3 separate regions of the Homo sapiens genome follow, and regions 1 and 2 are each linked to region 3. Evidence: promoter capture Hi-C in human tissues and cell types (Jung and others, 2019). All regions are on one chromosome and are shown on one strand. The core of a region is centred on a gene start or on the middle of the fragment in contact, and the rest is flanking DNA. Distances in the headings are between cores, read along the strand shown.

Region 1 (3,996 bases), core at 498-2,997, 360 kb after region 3:
CGTCTAATTTCACCTCCCTGACAGCGTCCTATCCTGTTCCCCACAAAGGCTCTCCGTCCAGCTGCTGTGCCATTCCTTCCTCTTTCCTGAAGAAAATCCGGGCCCACGGATTCAGGGCCAGAATCCCCTCTGATGGACCATCCACTGGCCCCGCAGCAGACTCCTGGCTAGGGAAGAGAAGGCCAAATGCTCAGTCTATCTAATTCCTTTCAAGGTCAAGTCCCCTTAATACAGCTGCAGAAAATAACAGGGGAATCACTTTTTTATGGTTTAGGCCTGTTTTAGGCCCCGGAGAATCTCAGGCTAGTATGTTTCTATGGCACTCCCTAAGGACCGCGTCCACTCTGCAAGAGGAGGGCACAGGGGCATGTCCCACACACCACACCACACACACACACACCATACCACATGCACCACACTGACACACCACCCACACACCACGCCACATGCACCGCACTCACACATTACACATACACACACTCCACATCCATGTACCACACATACACACACCACCGTGTTCACCACACACACAAACCACACCACATGCAACGCACTTACACAATACATATACACACAGCACCACACCACACCCATGTGCCACACACACACGCTCACATCACCCTGTGCACCACACACACACGCACCACACTGACACACCACATACATACACCACACCACATCACACATACACACCACACACACCACATGCACCACACACACACACCACATGCTGTGCACTTACACATCACACGTACACACACCCATGCACCACACCGACACCACACACGCACCACACCACATGCACCACGCTTACACATCACACACACACACCACACACACACACCACACACACTGCACTTATACATCACACATACACACCCATGCACCACCATACACACTCGCACCATCCTGTGCACCACACACCACACACATACACCACATGCTGTGCACTTACACATCACACGTACACACACCCATGCACCACACCGACACACCACACACGCACCACACCACATGCACCACGCTTACACATCACACACACCACATGCACCACACTGGCACGCAACACACATACCACACCACATGCACCACGCTTACACACACACCACACCCATGCACCACACATACACACTCACACCATCCTGTGCACCACACACCACACCCACAACACATCACACCACATGCGCCACACACATCACACCACATGCACCCCCGCCCCACCCGCACACTGAATGAATGACACAGCCACACAGAAGGCAGGGCCTGGGCCTGGTGCTGAGCCCCTCCTTGCCTCTGAGAAGCACGCCCCCTAAGGCAGGCCCAGCCCCTGGCTCCAGGGGCAGCCACGGATTTCCAGGGACTTTCCGAGGACTGAGCCTGGATCCTGTCTCGCTGGCGAGCAAATGGCAGTCCTCGAAATCACCCTGACTGCGCGCTGTGCACACGCACACTCACACATGTGCACACACACGCACTTGTGCAAGCGCGCACACGAGCCAAGCCAAGCAGCCGCACAGCAGCCGCCGGGGTTGGGCTGATGAATCCGGAGGCCCGGGTCACCTCGCGGCCCGCGGGCAGGCGCCGGAGGGGCGGGCGACGCGCGCACGTGGCGGGGCCGGGAAGGCCGGGCCTTTAGGGGGGCGGGGGCACGCCGCGTTGGGAGCAGGGGGGAGGACTGCGGCCCCCGCAGGCCCGGCCGCGCCCCCTCCCTCGGGCACCGCCCCCGCCCCGCCCCGCCCCGCGGCCAGAGCCTCCTCCGGCCACCGCTGGGCCGCGGGCGGGACGCCCGGGGCGGCGCGCGCAGGAGGAAGCGCGGCCCGCAGCGGCCCAGGAACTTCCCAGACGCCGAGTCGGGAGCGCGGGCCGCGGGGTCCGCTCGCGCCCCTGTTCCGCAGGTGTGCGGGGCTTGCGCCCAGCCCGGGCCGCGGCCGCCGCGCGTTTCCTCCCCGCTTGCCCGCCCAGAGGCCCCCGGCCACGCTCCTCGCCGGGCTCCGACCCCGCCGCGCCCCCTCCACGCCCCCAGCGCGCTGTGGCCGCAGCCAGCGCGTGTCCTGAGTCCGCCGTTCCGGCCCGGGGCTGCCGGGGAAGTTGGGGCGAGGCGGGCCGGGGATGCGCCATGGCCATGGCCCGGCTGGGCTCGTGGCTCGGGGAGGCGCAGTGGCTCGCGCTGGTGTCGCTCTTCGTCGCGGCCCTGGCCACGGTAGGCCTGTACCTGGCGCAGTGGGCGCTGGCCAGGGCGCGACCCCAGCCCCAGCGGCGGGCGGTGGAGCCTGGAGAGGGGCCGCGCCCGGGGTCCGACGCGCTGCTCTCCTGGATCCTGACGCTGGGCAGCTGGAGGAGCCAGTGGCAGGCGGCCTGGGTGACCGCCCTGAACGAGGAGGCCGAGAGGAAAGGGGTGAGTTTCCGGGACTGCGGGCCGGGGGGCGGCAGATGCCGGGGCGGGCGGTCCGGGCCGAGGTCTTTCCTGGAGGCGTCGCTGCAGCCCCTGACCCAGGCTAAGGGAGTCCTCCCCCCAGCGCAGACCATCCTCGAGAGTTAGGAGAGAGACGGGGGAGCGAGGCCCCTTGACGGAGAGACAAGACAAAGTGATTGATTTTATTCTCCAAACGGCAGGTGCTCCAGGCCCTGGGCTCCGCGAGGGACAGGCTGGCAGTTGGAGGGACCGTCAGAAGTGCTCATCCGCGCCAGCCAGTACCTGCCTTGCCTGGAGTCCCGGGGCGAATTCCCGTGCCCGATCGGACACTTACTGAGCTTGCACATGATACATGAATAGCTGTGACCCCAATGTGCTTCCGCCTCTCATAGAGCTGAATTTCACCAAGAATTTATCTCCAAAGACTTGCATTTCTTGGCATATAAAAATAGTGACCGTTTGCTGAGGGCCAGCCGCTGGGCAGACATCCTACCGAGGCTTTCGGTGCGTCTGCCATCTCTGAATCCTCACAACTCCCGGGACAGGGGTGTTATCACTGTTTTACAGATGAGGAAACCAAGGCCCGGAGAGGGCAAGCAGCCTGCCCAGTGCCACACAGCTCGTGGGCGGCAGAGCTGGCATGTGAATCCAGCTGCCCTGGCCTGCAAGCTAAGGGCCTCGTGTCTTACCTCTGCTGCCTCACAGTCCTGTGGGTGTTTCTGTAGTCGCTGATTACTCGTTGACTTATTTTTGCTTTTAAGACATCTTAGTATAACGACAAGCTCCTGGCATGTACTATTCTTAGGCATTTCACAGGAGAAGTTGGAGCCTGGGTGGGTTTGGGGAGGCACCCCTAGTCTTGGCCGCTGCTCCGCCCTTCCAGGCCACAGTTTCCTGCACATGCCTGTGCAGCTCAGTGGTCATTCGCTGTGGAAATAGCAGAATTGCTCATTTTCAATGTCCGGCCCCATCAACCTTCAAAATATTCCATGGCGGGCCCTGTGCCTGGTCCTTGTGCATGGCCTTGGAAGACATGGCCATGGAATTAAAAAACAAAAAAGCTTTGACTATCAGTTAGCAGCCATCCAACAAATCAAGAGACCTTGTTTTGAACTCTTGAAAAAGAACATAAATGACTGTACTTTTTGGAGGAAAAAGGCTTCAGGGTCAGTTGACTGACTTTTGTCCTGGTGCCCAGAATCTGTGCCTCAGCTGTCCAGAGCTGGAGAGTGTCTCAGGGAAACCAGCTGTCTCTTGTGGGAGCCCTCCACCCCTGTTGGCCTCACATCCAGGAGCAAATGCAGGTATTTCCCCAGGAAGCTGCCATCACTGACCCCTGACTGACCTGGAATCAAGGCTTCTGAGGCTGAGTCCCCTCCAGGCTGGTGGCTTGATTGGGCACCAGTCTCATCTGTGTCCTTTGTAGGAGGCAGGCAAGTGTTGGGTGAATGACCTTTAAGTTCAGCTTCTAACTCTGGAGTTTCAGGCTTAGAGGCAGTGACCCTACCTCCTGTATATTTGGGATGGTTCGTTTCCTGACATCTATGGATTGGCTTCAGAAAATATGATCCTCTTGGATATGA
Region 2 (4,182 bases), core at 457-2,956, 500 kb before region 3:
GAATTGCTTGAACCCAGGAGGAGGAGGTTGTAGTGAGCTGAGATTGTGCCACTGCACTCCAGCCTGGGCAACAGAGCAAGACTCCGTCTCAAAAAAAAAAAAAAAAAAAAAAAAAAAAAAAAGTGGTTGTGTTCTGACGGCTCTGCTCTCATGAATGCATTAGTCCATTAATGGGTTAATGGGTAAATGAGTAACAGGTTATCATGGTGGTGGCATTAATGGCTTTATAAGAGGAGAAAGAGACACCTGGGCTAGCACACTCAGCCCCTCACGTGATACCCTGTGCTGCAGAGAGTCCCCACCAGCAGGAAGGCCCTCATCAGATGTGGTGCCTTAACCTTAGATTTCTCAGCCTCCATAATGGAAGAAATAAATTCCCTTTCTTTACAAATGACCCGGCCTCAGGAATTCTGTTATAAGCAACAGAAAATGGACAAAGACAATAGCATTATTTAGTGAGATAAATTCACAGCAGTGTGTAGTAAAATGAATGTTTCTCCTTGGTGATGGAATCCTAATTTTAGAAAATTGTTTTTCCAAGTGTGAGGGGAAATATTGTGCCTTATCCTCCTTCCTGTCATGCAGTCATAATGGCTGGTGCTTCAGCACCATTTTGGCCCATAAGGTACTTCACAAAGGATGGCAGAGCAGGAAAATGGTTACTTAGTAAGCAGGTATAGAAACTTGTGTGCCAGGACTTGCCTTTAGTGTTTTAAAAATATTAACCCATTTTGTCCTCATAGCAACCACATGAGGTAATAAGGTCTACTGTTCTCAAGTCCATCCTATATTTGTCCTTTCTTGCATTGCTATAAAGAAATAACTGAGGCAGGGCACCACAGTGGCTCACGTCTGTAGTCCTAGCACTTTGGGAAGCTGAGGTGGGTGGACTGCCTGAGTTCAGTTCCAGACAAGCCTGGGCAACAGGGTGAAACCCCGTCTCTACTAAAATACAAAAAATTAGCTGGGTGTGGTGGTGGGTGCCTGTAATCCCAGCTACTTGGGTGGCTGAGACAGTAGAATCGTTTGAACCCAGGAGGTGAAGTTTGCAGTGAACTCACATCATGCCATTGCACTCCAGCCTGGGCAACAGAGCAAGACTCCATCTCAAAAAAAAAAAAATCCCCAAAACCCCAAAAATTAGCTGGGTGTGATGGTGTGCACCTGTAGTCCCAGCTAGTCAGGAGGCTGAGGCAGGAGAATCGCTTGAACCCAGGAGGCAGAGGTTGCAGTGAGCTGAGATAGCACCATTGAACTCCAGCCAGTGTGACAAGAGCAAAACTGTCTCAAAAAAATTAAATAATAGATACTGCATTATTTGGGTATTTTCCAATAAATATATATTGTAGGAAAACATTTTTGCTAAAAAAAACTGTGTCCTTTTTAGAAAAGGTAAACAAGTTTTGTCTAATTCAAAATTTATTTAAATGTTATGTATACAACAGGGTAAAAGGAATCAGGAAATAAAAACAGAGATAAAGTTATAAAAATAGTTTTTTTTTGTCATAAGAAAGCTTAAAGAGAAATAATTTTTTTATGGTAAATTTAGTCCTAAAATAAAATGACTGGTTGTTTAAGAAGGAGGAATATTCAGGACAAAACAAAGTCCAAGCATGTCATGAACAGTCAGTGTTAAGTCTCAATAAGAGGATATATGTATTAAAAAAAACCTGAAACTTTAATATGATCAAGTTGTCATTATTAAGTTTTGGTTTGCTTAGGAAAAAAAACTGGGATAAAAATTTTTTAAATTAAGTTTATTACATCCACGTATCTTCCTGTATGTGCTTTTAAAGTGCTTGTGACACTGAATTACAGGGCTTTGACTCCTGGGTCTAAAAAGGACACCTAGTCCTGCTAAGTCTTAAACATTGACAGCAATTGAAGCCTCATCTACAGGCCCATAGAAGATGCCAGTCAAAATAAACTCATTCCTGAGACACAGAGTAAAAAATTAAAGCTGTTCAACTCCTCAAGGCCCAGAGACTATTGTGGAAGAGGTGGGTGCATGAGATTGTAAGAGCGAATTTTGAAAGATAAAATAAGTTCAATTTATCTATAAATTAATCATTAATATCAAAGGTACACTGATGCAAGACAAGCATTTGGGCCCCTGTGTCAGATTAACAAGGTTTTCTTGAAGCATTAACTGGCTCTTTAATAAAGGTTATAAAGGGTATAAAAGGCATACGAAGCTATATCTTATGATCAAGATTAAAATTTTATAGATTGTTTATAAAATTTTGAACAACAAATTTAATTAGATTCATGCTGTTTTTATTAGGGATTATTGTTTGGAAAATTAAGTCTCCTCTCTCAAAGAATAAAGGTTTTCACCTTTTTCCTGAAATCCTTGTTATCACTTTGGTTAAGTGAATGACTTATTTTATTTTTATTGAAATGGAGTCTTGCTCTGTTGCCCAGGCTGGAGTGCAGTGGTGCAATCTCAGCTTACCGCAACCTCCAACTTATGGGTTCAAGCAATTCTCCTGCCTCAACCTCCGAGTAGCTGGGACTACAGGTGTCCACCACCACACCAAGCTACTTTCTGTATTTTTGGTAGAGATGGGGTTTCGCCGTGTTGGCCAGGCTGGTCTTGAACTCCTGACCTTGGGTGATCTGCCCACTTCAGCCTCCCAAAGTGCTGGGATTACAGGCATGAGCTACCATGCCCAGCATGAATGACTTACAATGACCTGGGATCCTACTTTGTGATATCAAGTGTCTTAAACCTTTCATATTTGACAAACTTTCCAAAATCAAATGATAAATTATGTCTTTTTCTGACCTAATTAATCCTTTAAGATATTAGGTTCCCTAAAGTCCAAACAATGACATAATTTGGTTTATTTAGTACAAAAAGTATACAGGAAGCATTGTCAAATATGAAATGGTGTTGGGTTTTCTTTGGGCTGTATTTGTATAAATACGTTATTGGTATGTATTCCAAAATTTTGGGAAACTCCTATAATTCTGATATAACTTAGTGTACATTATCAGAAATAATCATAATTGTTATGTTAAAATTATTGTGTGCCATAGAGGTAACAAGTTTCCTTGTCAATTGTGTCTTTGACTATGGCTGTCCTAAAATTTTTTGTCATTCATGAACAATTGTCTTATTTTGGTCCTATTAAAATGATGGTTTTATAATCAGCTATAAAACTCTAACAGGTGCTCTTCAATGCAGGTTTCTGATAACTTTGGAGATTGTGACATCAGAATAGAGGAAAAGCTTTCAGGACTCATAGAGAGCTAAAATGTTCATGAGTATCAAGCAGAACAGGAATTACCTGTATGGACTGAACTAATCTTTTTGACTTTTTGCTTAAAATGTTTGCTGATCCTTTGTTTTGTTTTTCAGAGTCTTAAGACTTTTCTTTTAAACTATTGACAGCTTTTAACAATTTAGTATACTTTTAACAATTTGGTATACTCATTACAGAAAATAATGTTTTTAAATTGTTTTCCTTCTTTTTTTCAATTTTTTTTCTAATTTGGAATCACTGAAAACTAAGCTGTTTTTTCTTAAAGCCCTGTGAACTGAAACCAGATAACTTAAACTTCAGAAGAAAGTAACAGCAACATATTTACATACATAAGCCACTTTCATACCTGCCTACTGATGTATAGACTTCAGAGTAATGTGGCCTATATGAATTTTTCAGGATTGTTCTTTTGTTTGTTGTTGTTTTTCTCCCTTCCTCCCCCTATTTTCTCTTCACAGGACATGAGACTTCATAACATGCTGAAAAGGAGCTTTTGGGACCTGCCCATCTAGGAATAAACTGTCCTAGCCATAAGAAATCACATAAAACCTAAGATCAGAGATCCATTTTCTTCTAAACTGCTTTCTCCAAAAGATTTTAAAGACGAAAAGGGGGGAAATGTGAAAGGAAAATATCTTGGGCCCCTAAAATCCCTAAAAACTAGAAGGAAAATTCAAGCTGGAAACTGCTCAGTGCAAACCTACCTTTCATTGTATTCAAAGTCACCCCTCTGCTCACTGAGATAGATGCATATCTGATTGTCTCCTTTGGAAAGGCTTATCAGAAACTCAAAATAATGCAACCATTTGTCTCTCACCTACCTGTGACATGGAAGTCTTTTAAATGCTTGCTCCCGGTGCCATAAAGAAATAGCACTTGGACATAATTTAATTTATTTAGTAAGGCCATTTTT
Region 3 (4,160 bases), core at 1,648-4,147:
CTGACAACAGCTCTGCTTTTTCTCTGGAACTGGAACTCCCCCAGGGGAATAGGGTGGCTGGGGAAGGCTGTGGGAATGCAGGCTCTGGAAGGCAGGTTGGGCTCTCCCATGCCATCCTCTGTTCCTGTACAGAGCCCAGGGCTCCTGGGGAGGGGGCTCCTAGAACAGAGAGAGGGGACACACACGGGCCTCCCCATTGACCTCTCCAGAGGTGCAGCCCAAATCCCCCTTCTCTGAGAAGCCTGTGCGTCTCCACCTGACAGGACCCAGCTCTGGCCCCCTTGCCACAGCCTTTGCTCCTACCAGAGCCGGGACCAGGAATCCTCTCCTCTGCCATCATGGTTGATCCAGCACACCCGGCAGGTGGTCAGTGTGTGTCCCAGGCACCTGGCTGGGCTGTGCAGCACCACTTCATGCTGTCCTGTGGGGTGAGCACCCTGTGACATGTAGGGAAACTGAGGTACAGATGGGACGTGACTTGCCCAAGGTCAGGCAGCACAGAACCTAGTCTTGGCTTCACCATCTTAACTCTGACATGATCCCGTCTCCCTTTGCGGGGGGACTCTTCAAGGACAAGAATGTGTCACCTTTGTTATTCCTTCCCCAGCCCTAAACCCTGGGTGTAGGCAGTAGGAGCTCAGTCAACATTCACTAGTTAAACGGAAGCAAACCCCAGCAGGGTTCTCGGTGCTGGCCGCAGAGAAGAATCACAGGCGACAGAACCACCTGTCAGGGCGGGGCCCAGGCATTGATATTCTCCCCACTCCAGGCAATTTTGAGTGCAGCAGGTGGAGACCACAGCACCTGCAGAAGCTCCTTGCGGGGGTCCTTCCCCAGCAGGTCATGAGGGCCGGAGGGGCAGCAGTCTGTTCCTGGGGTGTTTGCACCCTCCTGGAACTCAGCCCTGCACCACGACCTGGCCTGGCCTCTGGGTACTAGGAGCAGTGGGAAGGCAGGGAGATCTCACCAGATCCCCCAGGGAGATCTCACCAGATCCCCCAGGGATTTCCCCTACAATGACCTTTTTAATAACATGAAAATCCTGCTGTCCATTGATGAACCTGGGTCCGCTGTCTCCCAGAAAAAGTGAGTGCCCCGAAAACAAGGCAGGCAACGCTCTTTCCTTCTTCCTCCTTCGCTGGCCTCAGCGGGAGTGGCACATCAGAGGCCAGGGGCCCTCAAATCCATCCACAAAGGGCGTGCTGAGCGCAAGGGCGGGGCCTGGGAGTCACAGGGCAGGACACATCCTGGTGCTCAGCACGTACGCCATCGAGCTCCCATGGGTCACTCGGGGAAGGGCAGTTTGTGGATGCACCCTTGGAGGCTCAAGGCCGCCCTGCACACACCACCGGGGACCCCAGCTGCAGGCTAAATCCAAGCAGCCAGGCGCTCCCATTTCTCGGGGTGATAAACCAAGTCCACCCTTCAGACAGAGGCTCCTGGAAGGGCCAGTGGGGGTCATCAAAATGCCTCCCTGGAAAAGAAACACGGAGAACACAAAATCTAGGGGCCCGTTTTCCTGGAATGAGATTAGTCTCTTGCCCACTACCAGCCAGTCCACTGCAGGAGGTTGGGGGGTTGGGGGATGCTGCGGATGCCGAGGGCGGAGGCTTAGGGTCCTGGGAGTGGGTTAAATACCAGCTATACCAGGGACACTGGAGTAACCTCTGATAGGCACCGGAAATGTTGAGTCTTAGTTTCTTCCTCTGGAAAATGGATAGAATCATCGCTGTCTCATCTGATATGTTGTTATAAAACAATTCCTGAGATGTAGTCTTTAGTTTTTAAAAGAGCACGCTGGGCAAAGGTGGAGAGTCAGTTCCTGTTTGTGTTAAAAATGTGGCCGAGTGCAGTGGCTCATGCCTGTAATCCTGACACTTTGGGAGGCCAAGGAAGGCAGATCACTTGAGTCCAGGAGTCTGAGACCAGCCTGGCCAACATGGCGACACCTGGTCTCTAAAAAAATACAAAATATTAGCTGGACACATGCCTGTGGCCCAGCTACTTAGGAGGCTGAGGTGGGAGGATCACTTGAGCCCCGCGAGGGCGGGGGTCTCAGTGAGTTGAGATTGTGCCACTGCACTCCAGCCTGGGTAACAGAGCAAGACCCTGTCTCCAAAAAAAAAAAACAAAAAAAAAACAAAAAAAAAACAAAACAAACAAACAAACAAAAACAAACCAAAAAAACGTGCTTAGATCCAGAGAGAAAAATTCTGAAAGGATACCTAAAAAAGTGTTCACAATAGATCAATAGATGCCTCTGGATAGGAAAGGCTCTTTTGTATTATTTGATTTTAAAAATCAATTATGTGTACCATGTTTTTACTAACATATTTTCAATCAATTCATTTCATCCACTTATTAAAATGTAGTTACTAATTTTTAGGGGAGAAAGCAAAAAGGAAAGACAAGGAATCTCTGTGTTTCAGGAGTTGTGAGAGAGCCGCAGGGTCCTGACTCACTCAGAGCTGCCTGTCTCCGAGGCCGATCTGGGATGAAGCAGCCTGGGGCTCTCTTGTCATGGGACCAGGGGTGTTCTGAGGGCTTCTGGCTGGGAGGCTGAGATGGAACGGACACCACACCCTGGTCCTGCCACCCCACATGGCTCCTGCACACTACACCAGGCCAGGCTAGGAGGGCAATTGACACACATCCGCTCCCCAGTAGAGGACCCGGAACCAGAACTGGAATCCGCCCTTACCGCTTGCTGCCAAAACAGTGGGGGCTGAACTGACCTCTCCCCTTTGGGAGAGAAAAACTGTCTGGGAGCTTGACAAAGGCATGCAGGAGAGAACAGGAGCAGCCACAGCCAGGAGGGAGAGCCTTCCCCAAGCAAACAATCCAGAGCAGCTGTGCAAACAACGGTGCATAAATGAGGCCTCCTGGACCATGAAGCGAGTCCTGAGCTGCGTCCCGGAGCCCACGGTGGTCATGGCTGCCAGAGCGCTCTGCATGCTGGGGCTGGTCCTGGCCTTGCTGTCCTCCAGCTCTGCTGAGGAGTACGTGGGCCTGTGTGAGTACTGCCCTGACTGCCCCGGTGGCAGGGTGGGCGTGAAGGGAAGGGATCCAGGATAAGGGGGGATTCTGCATTCATTTAATAATGGCCACCTGTCACATATACACTTTTTCCTGCGCTAGCCCTTTGAAGTGGGTCTTTATTGTCCCCATTTCACAGACAAGGAAACCGAGGCTCAGAGAAAGTTAACAACTTATCCAAGGCAGCCCTGCCCAGTCTGTGTTGAAATCAGGGTTTGAGCCTGAGCCCATCCCCTATGACCCCATAGCCATCTTTGCTGGAGATTTCTAAATTACAATATAGGTCTTTATGCATTGTTCCACATTTACAAAGAAAAAGGAAAGATGCAGGAGAAAAACCCTGACTTCAGAACACTGTCAATACCGGCAGGCACAAGGTTCATTTAGCCATTGCATAGCAACCCTGCCATGGGGTGTGGCTGCTCCATTAACCCAAGTTTGAAGGAATGAGGGCATGGCTTTTATCTGGGTGTCTTCTGAGCAGGGTCAAAGGCAGTGGTTCCCGAACTTGCAGCCCATTAGAATCACCTGGAGAGCTTTAAAAATCCTAATGCTTGGGGCACACCAGTTACATCAGGGCATCTCCAGGCAAGATCCAGGCCTCAGCTGTTTTGTTTTGAGATAGCCTTGCTTTGTCACTCACTGCTGGAGTGCAGTGGCACAATCTCAGCTCACTGCAACCTCCGCCTCCTGGGTTCAAGCAATTCTTGTGCCTCGGCTTCAAGTAGCTGGGATTACAGGCATGCACCACCATGCCCAGCTAATTTTTTGGATTTTTAGTAGAGATGGAGTTTCGCTATGTTGGCCAAGCTGGTCTCAAACTCCTGGCCTCAAGTGATCCTCCTGCCTTGGCCTCCCAAAGTGCTGGAATTACAGGTGTAAGCCACCATGCCCAGCCAACGTCAGTCATTTTTAAAGCTCTGCAGCTGATTCCAGTGTGAGCGAAGTTTGGATGCCAGGAGGATAAGCAATTACGGACTGGGAGCAAGAGAAGGGAATGTAAGACACTGCACGTGATTGCCATTTTCCTAAGGAAATACTCAGTTCGTTAATGAAACGCAGTGAACTTCTGCTGCACATACAGACATAGAGGCTTGCCTGAAACATGAAAATATTGGGGACTG

Evidence for each region. Contacts are between HindIII fragments. The study calls those that stand out against the background at their distance.
Region 1: a contact is called between the fragment with the promoter of C2CD2 here and the fragment with the promoter of TFF3 in region 3, in 4 of the 25 tissues and cell types used here (H1 embryonic stem cells, IMR-90 fibroblasts, lymphoblastoid cells and 1 more).
Region 2: a contact is called between a fragment that was not itself captured here and the fragment with the promoter of TFF3 in region 3, in 1 of the 25 tissues and cell types used here (IMR-90 fibroblasts).

Annotation. Positions count from the first base shown.
Region 1 is chr21:41,951,769-41,955,764 of GRCh38, reverse strand. It overlaps C2CD2 (C2 calcium dependent domain containing 2), which reads left to right and starts at 1,747. Exons shown (of 14, transcript NM_015500.2): 1 at 1,747-2,395. The coding sequence starts at 2,117. RefSeq lists a silencer at 1,455-2,124 and an enhancer at 2,001-2,775. The HindIII fragment of the contact is 14,094 bases long and covers 1-3,996 here.
Region 2 is chr21:42,812,873-42,817,054 of GRCh38, reverse strand. No RefSeq gene overlaps it. Among named protein-coding and RNA genes, the nearest start is that of LINC01668, 35 kb to the right of the region's middle. The HindIII fragment of the contact is 5,053 bases long and covers 1-4,182 here.
Region 3 is chr21:42,314,146-42,318,305 of GRCh38, reverse strand. TFF3 (trefoil factor 3) reads left to right here and starts at 2,897. Exons shown (of 3, transcript NM_003226.4): 1 at 2,897-3,013. The coding sequence starts at 2,932. RefSeq lists enhancers at 559-1,177, 1,178-1,797. The HindIII fragment of the contact is 18,141 bases long and covers 1-4,160 here.